Linked DNA regions of Homo sapiens: region 2 is linked to region 1. Evidence: promoter capture Hi-C in human tissues and cell types (Jung and others, 2019). All regions are on one chromosome and are shown on one strand. The core of a region is centred on a gene start or on the middle of the fragment in contact, and the rest is flanking DNA. Distances in the headings are between cores, read along the strand shown.

The links. The method cuts DNA at HindIII sites, captures the fragments that hold promoters and counts their contacts. A contact is called where the count stands out against the background at its distance.
Region 2: a fragment that was not itself captured here is called in contact with the fragment with the promoter of NDUFB6 in region 1 in 2 of the 25 tissues and cell types used here (heart right ventricle and spleen).

Annotation. Positions count from the first base shown.
Region 1 is chr9:32,571,306-32,575,709 of GRCh38, forward strand. NDUFB6 (NADH:ubiquinone oxidoreductase subunit B6) reads right to left here and starts at 1,854. Exons shown (of 4, transcript NM_002493.5): 1 at 1,576-1,854. The coding sequence starts at 1,755. RefSeq lists enhancers at 1,402-1,941, 2,212-2,261. The HindIII fragment of the contact is 12,015 bases long and covers 1-4,404 here.
Region 2 is chr9:32,358,031-32,362,434 of GRCh38, forward strand. No RefSeq gene overlaps it. Among named protein-coding and RNA genes, the nearest start is that of ACO1, 24 kb to the right of the region's middle. The HindIII fragment of the contact is 5,283 bases long and covers 1-4,404 here.

The sequences.
Region 1 (4,404 bases), core at 604-3,103:
TAGATTTTTTAAAGACTTCCAAAAATATCCTTATTATAAGTTTGTTAAAGATAAAATATAGCAAAATAATGAAAGAATAATTTTAATGTATTTAACCAGAGTAATCAAACCTACAGAATTTTTCAGGTATAGTCATCTCCCTTATTTATTGATCAATGACACTCACATCATTTTAGGTATAAGGCAGACAACCTTGACAACGCCAATGCTGGAAAAAGGACGTTTTACATACTAAGATGGGGTGTCCCAAACTCACTCCAAAATGCCCTCTGCAACACTATTTTAAAAAAGAACTAAAAATGGAACTTTCCCATGTCTTCCAACTTGATTAAAAAACACCTATCCATTCAAGGAAGGGACAATCCAGAATCTAAGAATTATAACAGATATGATTATAAAAGAATAAATTAAAGTAAGGTAAGGTGAACTTCGACACATTATTATTTATTTACTTCCTTATATCACTTGCTGATGGATGGGATGTCAACTTTAAATCAGTGACTGCCAATATTCCGATAATGTCAGGGATACAAAGGGTGGGAGAAGAGTTGAATTTTACCACCATAAATAAGTATCCAATATCACTTTCTCAGAAAAATTTTCAACAATTCTATTGCACTAGACTTTGTAGCACAGTAAGAATCAGATACATGTTGATTACAATATGAACTCATATTCAATTCCTAGCTCCCTGACCACCAGCAAATCACTGAAGCTTTGTAGGCCTCAGTTTCTTCACATTTAAAATGAGGATTAGGAATATCTACCTTACAGGAATAAAGAAATGAAGTAACACATGTAAAACCCCCAGTAGAGTGCCAAGCACACAGCAAGCACCCGTGTGTTACGTAGTATTGTTACTACTATTATCCTGTCATCAGTAAGTGTTGCAGGTAACTGAAAGCAATTCTGAGATGTTTATCATCCATAACAGTCCTCAAGAAAATACCCAGAGGCCTTGAAAATAAAGTTCTTGAATGAGTGATTTTCTTCAAAGCCCAAAATGCGATTTTTTTAATGAAACACTGTGTTAAAAGTACAGAACGGTAGTTTAGAAAGGTAGCTCTTGAATGTGACTCACAAGGCATACCAACAGGACCCTGTCTTTTACGGGGATCACATGGGGCTGTACTATCAGCTAGGGGCTGGCTGTGCCCTCTGGTGGTTGGATACTGTGTTACTTGGTCTCTAGAACCTCACACTTAAAAGTCAGACAAGTGTCCTCAAATACTTAAATCACAGAATTTTAATTCTAGCGAGTCCTTGGTTATTATTCTGAGGGAAGATTTCTACAGTCAAAAGAGAACCAAACGTGCAGCGTCCTGGAAAACCTAAGTATTAAAATTCGCCCCCGTCCACTGTACTTGACAGTAAAAGGCATGATTCTCTCAAAGCCATACATATTCCTGGACTCCTGCCTCCCGAGACTCCAGGAGGACTCTCGGGACTGGCCAGTGTCCCAGAGCACTGAGCGTTATCAGTCCTTGGTGTGGCTGCAGGGAGCGGACGTTCAGTGTTCAGGCTGCCGGCAGCAGTGGGATGTGTTGGGGGGGACCGGAGAGGTCTGTCACTCACCATTTTCCTCCAAGGGGATTTATTCTCCAAAAATTTATTCCAGAATTTCTCCATAGGCCCCATCTTCTGTGGGGGCAGCACCGGCTCCCGAGGGCTCAGCTCCTGGTCCTTCAGCCATCGCCTTCTCAGCTCTCGCAGCTGCTGCAGCCGCAGTTTCTCATCCGGAGTGTACCCCGTCATGTCGCCGCTGGTACCAACGCAAAAGGACACGGCGCACCCTCGAACTACGGACTAGTTACTTAAGCGCGCTCCCGCTCTGCAAAGCGACCTTGCGGGAACGCCGAGCGCCGCGCGCGGTTATTACGTCACATCCTGGTTCCGCCTCTGCAAGGGCCCCAGATTCCTCGCGAGGAAAGCAGTGTGTGGGCATGCACAAAGGTCTCCACCTCCAGTTCTCTCTACGCCCACCTCCGCTATACCCGACCAAATTAGGACCGGGTGGGGACAAGGAGTACTCGTAGTTGTGGGGCCTGAGGAAAGTGACAGATTAGACGAAAGTATGCTAAATTAGAGGACTGGAGGTTTTGCTAAGGAAGAACTTGTATGCTGGGAGGAGGAAGGATAAGCATAAATGTTTCAGTGAATATGCTGGCCAGATTCAAAATTATTTGCTTGCCTCTCCCACCTTGGAATGACCTAGAGAGTGTATGAAAATAGTTACATCCCAGTTCAAATCCCAGCTATGCCAGTAACTGCTGAAGTGCCCTGGGCAGCTGTCTCATCTGTCCCTCCATCTGTACAGGAATAGTGAAAAGAGTAGCTTAATATCTAGCAAAATTGCATAGATGAATTCATGCTTTCACCCAAAAATACGTGTGGTGAAAATATGAAAGAGCATGCACGACTATTCAGCACGATTCATAATACCAAAATATTGGAAATTACCCCCAAATTCCTAAATAAAGGACTGCTTGAATAAATTGTAGTACAACAGTCAAAAGACAGCATTACAACGAATTAGTTTAAAAATCTTAATTGACTCTTATTCGTGATTCTAGAATCAAAAAACACCTCATTCTATAAAGTAGAATGAGTGTTCTGATCAGCTGAGCAGAGGCGGTTGGTTTTATTGGCAAATAGGGGCTGAAGAAAGCAGAAACCGAACAAAAAGTGGACTCATCGTTTCAAAGTTACTTTTAGGGTTAAAGCAGAAGAAACTTCCTTGTTTCACTGACTCAGACTTAAGGGAATTTCCTATTTTTTGGGAAACTGGCCCATTTCAAAGTTCAGTTTGATTGTGTGGTACTTAGCACAAACGACTCCATTCTGGTTTGGTCTGGTCTGCTGGGGCCTAGTGCGTGAAGCTAGTCCAAAACAGTGGCTTCCCAAAAACTTTCACACAACAAAGCAATGAAATGCTAATACAATCGTCAAAAGTAATAAGGAAGAACTCTATATACATCTGTGGTGTGATCTCCAGAATACATTACAAAGTGGAAAAAAAATGGATAGGAATTTGTACAGTATGCTTTTACCCAAAAAGAGAAAGATGGTGGTAATTTCAATATATATACATATTTTCTTAAATTTTCAAAATAATGGGAATGAAAACAATTGAGGTTTTTAAAGATGCTACCTATGGTGGAGGAAATAAATAGGATAGAGGAGACAGGGATAGAATCTAGACATCTCTGGAAACATCTTACTTCATAAATTTGACTTTAGAACCAAGTAAATATTTCATATTGTGAAATTAAATTTAGCTTAAAGATGTCTCCGTATTTTGAGTCCTTATATAATGAACTGCAACCCAACTTAGTATGCAATTTAACTCACAGCCTAACTTAGGAATATACTTCTGTAACAAATAACTGAGTCTCAGCCAATCATCACAGGTGGTCAACTGATCAGCCCATGTTCAAATAAGGCAAAGGCCAACCTGTAGCCAATCAAGCTGTTTCTGTATCTCATTTCTGTTTTTTTTCTATGCGTGCTGCCTGGCCTCTTTGTGGAACGATACTTTCTGAACCTCCTCTGGTTCTGAGGGCTGCCTGATTCTCAAATTGGTCATTGCTCAATTAATTTCTGCTAAATTTAATTTTTCTAAAGTTTTAATTTTAACAATATCATTACAAAACAAAATTAAATTTACAAAAAGCAGTCCATAAAAATCAAGTAAAAACCAGTAGCTCTTAATTGGTCCACTTGGTGGCATAATCTCAAAGGTACACATCATTCTAAATACAATAGCCCTTGTAACAACGCTAGGGTTAGTAGTGCCAATCCCCTCCACTTGGCACAATCAAACATCCACATATAACTTTGGACTCTCCAAAAACTTAATAGCCTACTCTTGACCAGAAGTTTTACTGATAACATACAGTCAATTAACACACATTTTGTATATGTATTATATGCTATATTATTACAATAAAGTAAGCCAGAGAAAATAAACTGTTATTAAGAAAATCATAAGGAGGCAAAGAGAGGGGTTGGTCTTGCTGTCTTGGGGTGCCAGAGGCAGAAGAAAATCCACGTATGATGGACCCTCGAAGTTCAACCTGTTTTTTTCAAGGATCAACTATAACTTTAAACCATTGAATTATTGTAAATCCACTGAGAGACAACCCGCAAAAACAAACAAAAAAAAAACAACTTAAAAAAAATCTTGGCCAGGCGTGGTGGCTCACGCCTGTAATCCCAGCACTTTGGGAGGCCAAGGCGGGTGGATCACAAGGTCAGGAGATCGAGACCTTCCTAGCTAACACAGTGAAACCCCGTCTCTACTAAAAATACAAAAATTAGCCAGGTGTGGTGGCAGGCGCCTGTAGTCCTAGCTACTCGGGAGGCTGAGGCAGGAGAATGGCATGAACCTGGGAGGCGGAGCTT
Region 2 (4,404 bases), core at 607-3,106, 210 kb before region 1:
ACTGCACCCAGCCCAATTTAATTTTATACGTGAACTTTGCATCCTGCAACCCTGCTTAATTTAGTTGTTAGTTCCACTAACCTTTTTGTAAATTCTTAGAGATTTTTTGCATTATTGTTTATGTCATGTGCAAAGAGAATACAGTTTTATTTATTTCTTTCCAATTTTTGTCCTTTTTCCTGGCTTATTTTACTGTGTTGGACCTAGAAGAAAGTTGAATAGGAGTGATGACAGTGGATATCCTTGCCTAGTTTCAGTCTTTCATCATTAAGTTTGTTATTAGCCATAAGTTTATTGTAGAAGCCCTTTTTCAGACTGAGGATGTTTCCTGCTGTTCCTAGTTTGCTAAAGCTTTTTATTAGAATGGATGTTGAGTTTTGTCAGATTCTTTTTCTGCATTTATTGAAGTAATTAGTTTTTCTTTTTTTTTTTTTTTTTTTTTTTTTTTAGAGAGAGTCTCACTCTGCCACCCAGGTGGAGTGTGGTGGTACGATCAGGGCTCAATGCAGCCTTGACCTCTGGGGCTCAAGCAATCCTCCCACCTCAGCCTCCCAAGTAGTTGGGGCTACAGGCACACACCACCACACCTGACTAATTTGTGGTTTGTTGTAGAGATACATATTGCCCAGGCTGGTCTCAAACTCTTGGGCTCAAGCAATCTGCCCTCCCTAGCCTCCCAAAGTGTTGGAATTACAGGTGTGAGCCACCGTGCCTAGCCTATAGTTTGTCTTTGTTAGTCTGTTGATATAGTGAAATGCTGGTTGATTTTTCAATTGTTGAGTTGGCCTTGCTTTCCTGAGATAAACCTCTTTGTTCATTATATACTGTCCTATATTGATAGATTAAATTGGCTAATATTTTGTCCAGGACTTAACTGTTCTGGATATTTCATAAATGGAATCACAAAATATATAGTCCTTTGTGACTGGCTTGTTTCACTTAACATGATGTTTTCAAGGTGCATTCATGGTATAGCATGTAGCAGTACTTTATTCCTTTTTATTGCCAAAAAATATTCATTATATGGATATGCCACATTTATCCATTCATCTGTTAGTGGGAATTTGAGTTGTTTATACTTTTTGGCCATTATAAATAATGCTGGTATTAACATTCATGTACAAATGTTTGTATGTGCACGTTTTCATTTGTCTGATTTCAACTATAATTTCAATTATGGCTACATCAAGCATATTTGAGTCTTATAATTTTATTTACAAATTCGTATTCAAAAAATATAAATATTTAATGAGTATCAATTATCGATTTATCCCATCAAGTTAACAAAAAACCAATAATAATATCCAGAGTTGTGAAGGATTCTGAAAGACAGCTACTCTGTCCCAGCTGGTGAAAATTTAAACTGATAAAAGTTTTCTGGAGGGCAATTTGAGTAGCTAAAAACCAGGGGCTATCAGTGGTTAAATAAAGACAATGCAATAATACTAAAATCATGTTTTTAATTAACTTTCGGTGACCTGAGAAAAGTTTTTGATGTTATATTTTGAAAATGCAACATATGAAACTACCAACTGTGTGTTCCCCACTTACCGAGTTAGGACAGAGACTGATAGAACTAAATTTATACAGTGATACATCACCCGTGGGTGGTAGGACTATGGGTAGTTTTCAGTGGTGGATATGTATGTGTGCACGTGTGTATTTTCAAAGTTTTTGCAGTGAACATGTTTTACTTTAAAATGATAATGAATGTGATGTATAGAACTGTTCTTAATTTCACCTCTTTAAAAATCACTTTTATATTTTACAACACAACAACAAATATTTCCTTCAGGAATGCCTCATTTTGCTTCTCCAAAAGTTGCAAAACATCTTAGATAATGAGCAGTTTATTTGCAGTAATAATGTATTGGCTGTACTTGGGGAACTAGCTCACTGAACTTTTCCCTGTGGCAATACAAAAATGTCATACACAGAGGCATTATGGTGTTTATGCTAACTATGGCATTTTACACACCAGGGCTCATTATTATTCCCATTAATTTTGTGATTGTTAATAGCACTGCTATTAATATGATGACTTAACCTTTACAGATTTCAATCAAACATTTCTAAACTCAATAGAGAATGTGTCTAGAATGTAAGGAGATGTGTCTCTGAGTGGTGTTCCCCAGCAGGGAGCATATTTTCATATTCAATATATTTTAACTACTGTGATGCCTAGCTAATATTTTATTTATATTAGAGTAATATAAATAATTATTTATATTAGAGTAATATAAATAATTATTTATATTAGAGTAATATAAATAATTATTTATATTAGAGTAATATAAATAATTATTTATATTAGAGTAATATAAATAATTATTTATATTAGAGTAATATAAATAATTATTTATATTAGAGTAATATAAATAATTATTTATATTATATTATAATATAATATATATAATTATATTATAACATAATATAATATAAATAATTATTTATATTATAACATAATATAAATAATTATATAAATGATAATTATATATAAATGATTATTATATATAATAATTATTTAATAATTATTATTTAATAAGTAATATGAATAATTATATATATTATTCTAATGTAAATAATTATTTATATTATTATATACCCCATGATCCAGCAATACCACTACTATATATCTAAAGGAAATGAAATCAGGATCTCAAAGAGATGTCTACACCCGTTCATTCATTGCAACATTATTCACAATAGCCAAGATAAAGAATCAACTTAATCAATTCTTTAGAATTCTAATATAAATAAAAATTAGAAAAGTAAATGTTTTCTAAAAAGAATATCGGATTCAGGAAACTAGAGATAAGAAACAATTACTTCATTAGTAAAGGTATAAAAATTTGAAATGACAAACCAACTTTTGTAAAAAATATTTATGAATGTCAAAAGTACATATTAAATGGAAACAACCTATGGGGGTATTTTCTACATGTTGATTTTTGTAGTTAATCTTAAAATAAGCAAAGAATAAGAAGTTTTTAACAAGGAGCCTCATTTTATACCAAAAGTTGTTCTAGGCTTAAATCTGAGTGAAACAAACTATAAAATTCAAAAAGATAAAAATACAGAAGTTTCTCTACTTCAATTGTTGGGAACAGAGCAAGGCTCCCCCGAAAGTATATCACTGTTGCTAACAGATGGTTTAAGCTACCTTGCACCATCATTTATCCTTGGTCATAGAGTTGTTCATTAGTCTGTGTCAGCTGTATTTCTGTATAGTTGTGAAGTGTTTTACAAGCATTATTAATGCCATTATATATGATAAGCATAAAAGCAGTGAGCGCTATTATAATTTCCATCATTTTCTATTCTGTGGAACTGTTTACAAGGCATGATAAATAACTGTTGTTTAAAGGAAACATCTAATGGCAAAAATCTAACTGCTTAACAAAACATTCTGTTGCTAAGGACGTAGTGAAACAGGCACTCCCACACTTAGTGATGGGCATGCATGATTATACCACCACATCATGGAGAAAAGAAAACCTTTGTACACTGTTGGTGGAAATATAAATCTGCATAGCCATTGTAGAAAATGGTATGACGGTTTCTCAAAAAACTAAAAATAGAACTACCCCATGATCCAGCAATCCCACTACTATATATCCGAAGGAAATGAAATCAGGATCTCAAAGAGATATCTACACCCTTTCATTCATTGCAACATTATTCACAATAGCCAAGATAAAGAATCAACTTAAGTGCTCATCGGTGGAAAAATGGATAAAGAAAATGTGGTGTATATACACCATGGAATACTATTCAGTCTTAAAAAAAAGAAGAAAATGCCGTCACTTGGAACAACATGGATAAACCTTGAGGATATTACATTAAGTGAAATAAGCCAGGCACAGAAAGATAAATGCTGCATGATCTCAGTTATATGTGGAATCCAAAAAAGTTGAACTAATGGAAAGAGAGTATAATGATGGTTACCAGGGGGCTGGGAAGATATTGGTCAAAGGATGCCAAATTTCAGTTAGAAAGAATAAGTTCAAGAGACCTATTACACATCATGGTGACTACAGGTAATAACAATGTATTATACATCTGAAAATTTCTAAGAGAGTGACATTAAACATTCTTACCACAAAAAAAGTATGTGTAGTAATGCCTAAATAGCTTGATTTAGCCATTCCACAATGTATACATATATGAAAACATCATTTGTACACCATAAATTTACACAATTTTTACTTGTCACTTGAAAAATAATAATGCTACCATACCCCTGGAGAACATATCCATGGAGATTATTAAATTGCTGCCTCTCAGTTCCAAATCTATCCTTTTATACTCTGCTTTTGATGCAAGGACCAGGACTCTCAAACTATCTTTCTGCTTTGTCACATGGCTCTGAATTAGGCTCCTTCAATAGAAGCACCAGGAGCC